Regions from separate parts of the Homo sapiens genome. Here region 1 is linked to region 2. The links are contacts of gene promoters, found by promoter capture Hi-C in blood cells and fetal thymus (Javierre and others, 2016). All regions are on one chromosome and are shown on one strand. The core of a region is centred on a gene start or on the middle of the fragment in contact, and the rest is flanking DNA. Distances in the headings are between cores, read along the strand shown. Region 1 has its middle 41 kb from the start of CD83. Region 2 holds the start of TBC1D7 (TBC1 domain family member 7).

What was found. Contacts are between HindIII fragments. The CHiCAGO score rates a contact against its expected background, and 5 or more counts as called.
Region 1: a fragment that was not itself captured here is called in contact with the fragment with the promoter of TBC1D7 in region 2 in 1 of 17 cell types (non-activated CD4 T cells); the score reaches 5.7 in non-activated CD4 T cells.

The regions. Positions count from the first base shown.
Region 1 is chr6:14,075,490-14,078,759 of GRCh38, reverse strand. No RefSeq gene overlaps it. Among named protein-coding and RNA genes, the nearest start is that of CD83, 41 kb to the left of the region's middle. The HindIII fragment of the contact is 343 bases long and covers 1,101-1,443 here.
Region 2 is chr6:13,326,432-13,330,088 of GRCh38, reverse strand. It overlaps TBC1D7 (TBC1 domain family member 7), which reads left to right and starts at 1,552. Exons shown (of 8, transcript NM_016495.6): 1 at 1,552-1,793; 2 at 3,183-3,302. The coding sequence starts at 3,191. TBC1D7-LOC100130357 (TBC1D7-LOC100130357 readthrough) reads left to right here and starts at 1,552. Exons shown (of 9, transcript NM_001318809.2): 1 at 1,552-1,633; 2 at 3,183-3,302. The coding sequence starts at 3,191. It overlaps LOC124901261 (a long non-coding RNA gene), which reads right to left and starts at 1,474. Exons shown (of 2, transcript XR_007059457.1): 1 at 1,191-1,474; 2 at 232-364. RefSeq lists an enhancer at 1,207-1,713 and a silencer at 1,347-1,736. The HindIII fragment of the contact is 4,199 bases long and covers 688-3,657 here.

The sequences.
Region 1 (3,270 bases), core at 23-2,522, 750 kb before region 2:
CCTGTCTCAAGAACAAAAGAAAAAAAAAAAAGTACCATAAACCAGGTGGTTTAAATGGCAGCAATGGATTATCTCACAGTTCTGGAGGCCGGAAGTCTGTAACAAGGGGCTGGTGGAGTTGGCTCCTTCTCAGGGCTGGGAGGGACACTCCGTTCCATGCTGGCAATCTTTGGTGTTCCTTGGCTTACAGATGCATCACCCCTAGCTATACCATAATCTCCACATGGCATTCTCCTCATCTGTAACTGACTCCAAACTTTTCTTATAGGGACCCCAGTCATATTGGGTTAGGGCCCACCCTAGTGACCTCATTTCAACTTTATTACCTCTGCAAAGACCCTATCTCCAAATAATGTCACATTCTGAATTAAGGGAGGTTAGGACTTCAATATACAGACTTTGGGAAGACTCAATTAAACCCATAATAGTTTCCTTCTTTCTCTTTTTATCTACTTGCAATGTAGTTGTTGAAGAATCCAGGACATTGTCCAGTTTCTTCTGGATTTTGCTGATTTCTTCCATATGATCCCATTTGTAACATGCTTCTCTGTCCTCTTGTGTTTCCCGTAAACTGGGTGGTAGACCTAATCCCATGGCCAGATTCAGGTTTGGCCATTTCAGCAAGAATACACCAGAAGGACTTTAATGAGAATGTCATGTGGAGATTATGGTATAGCTAGGGGTGATGCATCTGTAAGCCAAGGAACACCAAAGCTAGCCAGCATGGGAAGGAGTGTCTCCTTTTTTGTGATGTTATGACTGGTCACAGGCTCAAGAACTGTCGCCCTCATCCAGCTGTTACTGGAAAAGGGTCCAGATCCAGACCCCAAGACAGGTTTCTTGAATCTTGCACAAGAAAGAATTCGGGGTGAGTCCATAGAGTAAGGTGAAAGCAAGTTTATTAAGAAAGTAAAGAAACAAAAGAATGGCTACTCCATAGGCAGAGCAGCAGCATGGGCTGCTTGACTGAGTAAACTTATGGCTTTTTTTCTTGATTATATGCTAAACAAGAGGTGGATTATTCATCAGTTTTCTGGGAAAGGGGTGGGGAGTTCCTGGAGCTGAGGGTTGCTCCCCCTTTTAGACCATATAGGGAAGCTTCCAGACCATGCCATGGCAATTTGCAAAGTGTCATGGCACTGGTGGGACTGTCTTTTAGCATGCTAATGCATTATAATTAGTGTATAATGAGCAGTGAGGACGACCAGAGGTCACTTTCATCGCCATTTTAGTTTTGGCAGGTTTGGACCAGCTTCTTTACCACATCCTGTTTTTATCAGCAGGGTCTTTATGACCCATATCTTGTAACCTCCTATCTCATCTTATGACTAAGAATGCCTAACCTGGGAATGCAGCCCAGCAGGTGTGAGCCTCATTTTACCCAGCCCTATTCAAGATGGAGTCTCTCCGGTTCCAATGCCTCTGACACAACCATATAAAGCTTTCCATCAGCTTTTCATATAATGGCATCAATAGCCATTGCTGATCAGTGCCTGATTCCATTATTTCATTAGAGGTTGAAAAATGCGATTTAAAATTCTTAGTTCTCTGGCATTTATTATCTGAAATTCTTGCATAAAGAACTTTCTTGTAACAACTGCTTGCTAACCCTGAAGTACAATTCACACAGGCAAGACAGGATAAATCATTCACTCATTTTCTTCATTGGCTTTTAAAATAATGACTTGGTTTCTGAGCATCTTCCAAAAGGGAACAATGAGGACGATTTTTGAGTATTATAATTAACTTGTGGATTTTAACATACATGATTCCTTGAAGTTATTCTATTTGCTGTAGTTATTATTCTTTTTGAAGCTCAAAATGTTCCATCTTTGCCCAGTGAGAGTCCCTTCAAGTTGGTTCCAGAATTCTCTCTTTTTTTGAGTTGAAGTCTCACTCTATCACCCACGCTGCAGTGCAGTGGTGCAATCTCGGCTCACTGCAACCTCTGCCTCCCAGGTTCAAGCAATCCTCCTGCCTCAGCCTCCCAAGTAGCTGGGATTACAGACACATACCACCACACCCAGCTAATTTTTGTATTTTTAGTAGAGACAGGGTTTCACCATGTTGGCCAGGCTGGTCTTGAACTCCTGACCTCAGGTGCTCCACCTGCCTCAGCCTCCCAATCCAGAATTCTTATGATGCAACTCCAAAGGCTTTGATAATCTCCTTGCTTTCTAGTAAATCAATGTGCTCTGGGTTCACCTTGTTCACTTCTTGTCCCAAACCTAGAATCAGCTATTTGTCCAAAGAATGTTGGTTTCTTTTATTGGAGATTGGCATTTAGAGTCAAATATCTGAGTGCTAAGAATGCTCATTGCCAGATTATTTAGTGAACAGTGGTTAGAAATACTTTTTTTAAATTTTATTTTATTTTAGAGATGGGATCTTGCTTGTTGGCCAGGTTGGTCTTGAACTGGCCTCAAGCAATCCTCCTGCCTCAGCCTCCCAAAGTACTAGGATTACAAGCATGAGCTTGTAGGAGAAATACTTTTATAAGAGAAGATATATCATGAGTTCATATCAATATTGTCAACTTAAATTTAGAGTTATAGGGTTTGTATGTAAATTGTTTAATTTTATGCTTGCAACCTTTTTAAACTGAAAATCTTGGTTCCTAATAACTTTAACATAATTATGATGCATATATATTTGCACATATATATAAACAGACATATGTTTCAAATGAACAATACCAATATTATTACCAAATAAAGATATAATTAATAAGTAGTATTATTGAACACAATTTAAAATTTATTTATAGTTGTTTGGTCCATTAAGGTATAATCCACTGGGGATGTATTTATATTACAGTACTTGAAAGCCATATGAAATAGTTCCTTTATATGTGGTTGACCCATTTGCTCAACAAAAGTGATTAGAAGTTAAGAAATTAACAAGGTTAATTTTTTTCCACTTTGCTTTCGATTTTGAAGGATTGTTTTCTATTTTTATTCACTTGTATTTTGTAATTATATAAAACATTTACATAAGTCCAAAGTCAAATCAACAAAATGTGAACTCAGAAGTCTGGCTTCCATTCTCACCTCTCTGACCTGTCCCTTCTTCCTGATAAGTAACTGTTTTTTATTAGTTTTTGCTTTATCCTATCATATAAAAAAATTAAGCAAATAGGACTCTGTGTGTTTTCCCTCTTTCTTATATATAGCTTGGCATTTTATTGTTTCTGAAACCTTGCTTTTTTCACTTATATCCTGGAGATCTAGAGAGAGTTGAAATCTGAGTTCTTTCAGTAACAACCTTCAT
Region 2 (3,657 bases), core at 303-2,802:
ATTCTCCTGCCTCAGCCTCCAGAGTAGCTGGGATTACAGGTGTGTGCCATCACACCCAGCTAATTTTGTATTTTTACTAGAGACAGGGTTTCACCATGTTGGCCAGGCTGGTCTCGAACTCCTGACCTCAGGTGATCCGCCTGCCTCGGCTTCCCAAAGTGTTGGGATCATAGGCATGAGCCACGGCGCCCAGCCAGCACCGATCACTTTTTAACACACTACATCATTGACTTATTTATTTTAGTTTTTATTGGATCTGTCCTCCCACCAGAATGTCAGTTTCACAAGGTTAGGGATCTTTGCTTCGGTAGCTGATGTATCCTGAGTCCATAGAACAGCGCCTGCACACAGTAAGTGCCCAGCCCTGGTGATGATTTTAAAGACAAGAAAAGGCAATTATAAAAGTTAGTGACCGGCCCAAGGTTTAGATGAAGTAAATGGAACTTGTGTAAGGTAACTTGAAGAACTCTGCTTACTCATGTGAACACTACCCAAGGAAGGTTTAGTACCCCAGTACTGAGGAACTAAAGATGGTGGTGGTAAGGGAGTGGGGAGGGGCATCAGTGTTTGAGTTCAACCACCACACGTTTCTTCATTTTTAAGTTCTGTCTAGCCATTATACACACATTTGTCTGCACTATAACTGGACTTCTGCACTGTTGATAGTCCTAAGTTTCCTTCAAAGCTTGGCATCCGTGTGGCTTATTTGGTAGAGATTTGAACTTTCAAAGGGACGATACCCATCATTGGGGATTTCTCTCAAACCCTGGCGGTTTAAAAACCTACTTGGGCACTGCTGCTCAGCCAGCCCGAGGACCAGGGAGGCAAGCACAGAAATAGAAAGCATTTGTAAGTGTTAGTAGCTACTTTAAAGAGTAACTCTGTTCTGTTAGACCTACTAATAACAAATTAGGAGCTTGCATTTAGCACATCTTTTTTTAAAAAAAAAACACGTTCATTTTTCTCCTATGTTATAGTGTTTTACCTGAGAGGCTGAATATACTAAGACAATGGCCAAATCTAATATAAAAATAGACCTCCAATCCACAACCTGCAGCAACCTGCCCAGAAAACCAGTCAGTTACCTACAATAACCAACCCAGGGAGCCTGCCTGCTCTAAATCAGACTTGCACTCCTCTGCCTGCCTTTTTTCTTCTCATTCGGATGGTCTTCATCTATTCCCACATACCTGGGGTGGGGAGGAAATTAGCAAAAGCAAAACCCGGGTCCTGCACGCAGGCAGCTTAAGTACGGCCCTAGGGCTCGGGTCTTCCCTAGGCAAGAACCTCGAGGGCCGGACACGGGAGTGCAACCCAGGCACGCGCCTTCGGATGGCCAGAGTAAATGGTCGCGAGATTTTGCGGGGTAGCAAGGGGCCGGGTGCCCACGGCGGGAGAAACTACACTACTCTGGAGGCGAGCCTAGCCCTTCATCCCGTCGGGTTTCACAAACGAAGCCAGAGCTTCCTGGAGTGAGGGTGGAGCTTCCTGCCCGCGCCCTCTGCGCATGCGCCCGCCCGGCGCCCGCCCGGCGACCTGGAGTTGATGTCACGTCCGGCGGCGGCGGCAGCGGCAGCGGCAGCGGCGCTGAGTTTTGTCTCCCGGGCCGTCTGGGCGCGCGCGGGTGTCCCAGGTACCCCGCCGCCTCCCTCCTTCCCGCAGGACTCGTCCCTCCTGGCCCTGGGCCCCAACGGTGCCCGCCTGCCCGGCGGTCGGTCAGCGCACAGGGCACGGCTTCCTCTGCTTCTCCCGGACCACTTAGTCTCAACCCGGGTGTGTTTGCACTACTAGAGGTGAAGCATCCATCATAGAGAGAATGGGACCTGGGGTCTTGGACCAGGGTGTTTTTACTTTTCCCATCAGGTGGACGCGCATGGGCAGGAGATATTATTTGCAGCATTTCCTCCTAGAGGACGCCTTTGTCATTGTAGTGCAATCTAAGAATGGGTGTCCTTAGACAACAGGGACCGACCAAATCGTCATGCAGCTGTTTGGATGCTTTAAAAAAATAAATCCCCACACTCATTACGCGTTTTATGCTGCTGACTTTTTTATTTTTAAGACATCTGCTCCCGAAAGCTCAGAGCCCTTTAGCATTTCATTTTCTAAACGAATCCTAATCTTTCCTGTGACTGAATCGGTTCAGAGGATATCTTTTCAATAAGGAAGGAAGCCCTCCCCTGCTCACTGGGGACGTCGCAGGGTTTTTAAACCTAAAGATTTACTCTTTTGTGCACAGACGCTGGAAGCATTTGGGTGAGGCAGTGCAGTGCTTTTTGGGAAATGCATCAGATCTTTTCTGTTCTTGAAACGCCAAATCTAACTTGGTCTTTTTTTGGATGAATTACCGCCAGTATTATGAAGGTTACTGTGAAGGAACTTGAGACCACTGAACTTTTTGAGTTCTTGCGGTAGATTTTAAATCGTTTTTCCGTCTTCAACTCTGACTTTGGGATCACTGTCAATTGGCTACATTCTTTACCCTCTTCTAGTTATAATTTAATGCGATTTATTTGTTGTGGGTTTTGAATTTCGATAGCTACACTTAATAGAATTGTGTTTAAAAGAAAGATAAGTGAGGAACTCGTGGCTTTTTACTTTTATATAACTTAATTTTTCATTTTACAAAATGCCCATTTAAAAAAAAGTAGCTAAGCAAAAGAAAGGAAATTAAAATCATCTAGAATCCTACTATCTAAAGATAACCATTGCTAACATTTTGGAATAGAGTGTTAAGTTTTAAAATACATGAAATTTGTAAAAAACAAAAAATGAAATCATAGTGTATACTGTTTGAGTATAATTTGCTTGACGTATCTTGCCTGGCTTCCATTTCACTTATTTTTTTTCTTTGCGCATTTATAATAGCTACAGAATGTTCTATTGTGCTAGGCACTCATAGGTATAGTGGGAAACCTAGTGCATAAACCTTGTGCCATCTATTTTATCAGCTCAGAGAACTTTTAACTTATATCTTGGTTTTTAGCCAAGATGCATAGGTGAGATAGTTGCAGAACTGAGTTAAAGGAAAAATTTAATATTGGGTCCTATGCAAGGGTACATCATATTGAAAAGGTGGAGAACATCATTGAAAATTATTCTAATTCTTGACTCTTTGTTTCTAGACTCACTTTTCCCCTTCGTCTTTCTCTCCCTTTCTGTCTTTCTGTGTCTCCTCCAAGAATGAAATATGACTGAGGACTCTCAGAGAAACTTTCGTTCAGTATATTATGAGAAAGTGGGGTTTCGTGGAGTTGAAGAAAAGAAATCATTAGAAATTCTCCTAAAAGATGACCGTCTGGGTGAGTACTTTTAAAAATTAATCTCATTGGTTCTCAATCACTCCACATGTTCTGAAGTAAATATTTTCTTAAAAGACATCCAGAAGCATTGGTTACTTGCTGTATTTTTTAGTGATGTGGTGAAGCAGAATGGTGTATTTTGAGAAAAGATTTTTCAAATTTATATTTCACTGAGCGTCAGAAGTTTTTGAAAGGTTTCTTAAGAAAGTCAGTAGTATTTTTTTCTTTTATTGAACCCATATGTTTTCATGTATTATCTAGGTAAATTTGCTTCTGGGTAAATTTGCGATAACTCTGGTCATGATTTTCTTTTTTTTTTTTTTTGAGACCAAGTCTGACTCTGTTGCCCAGGCTG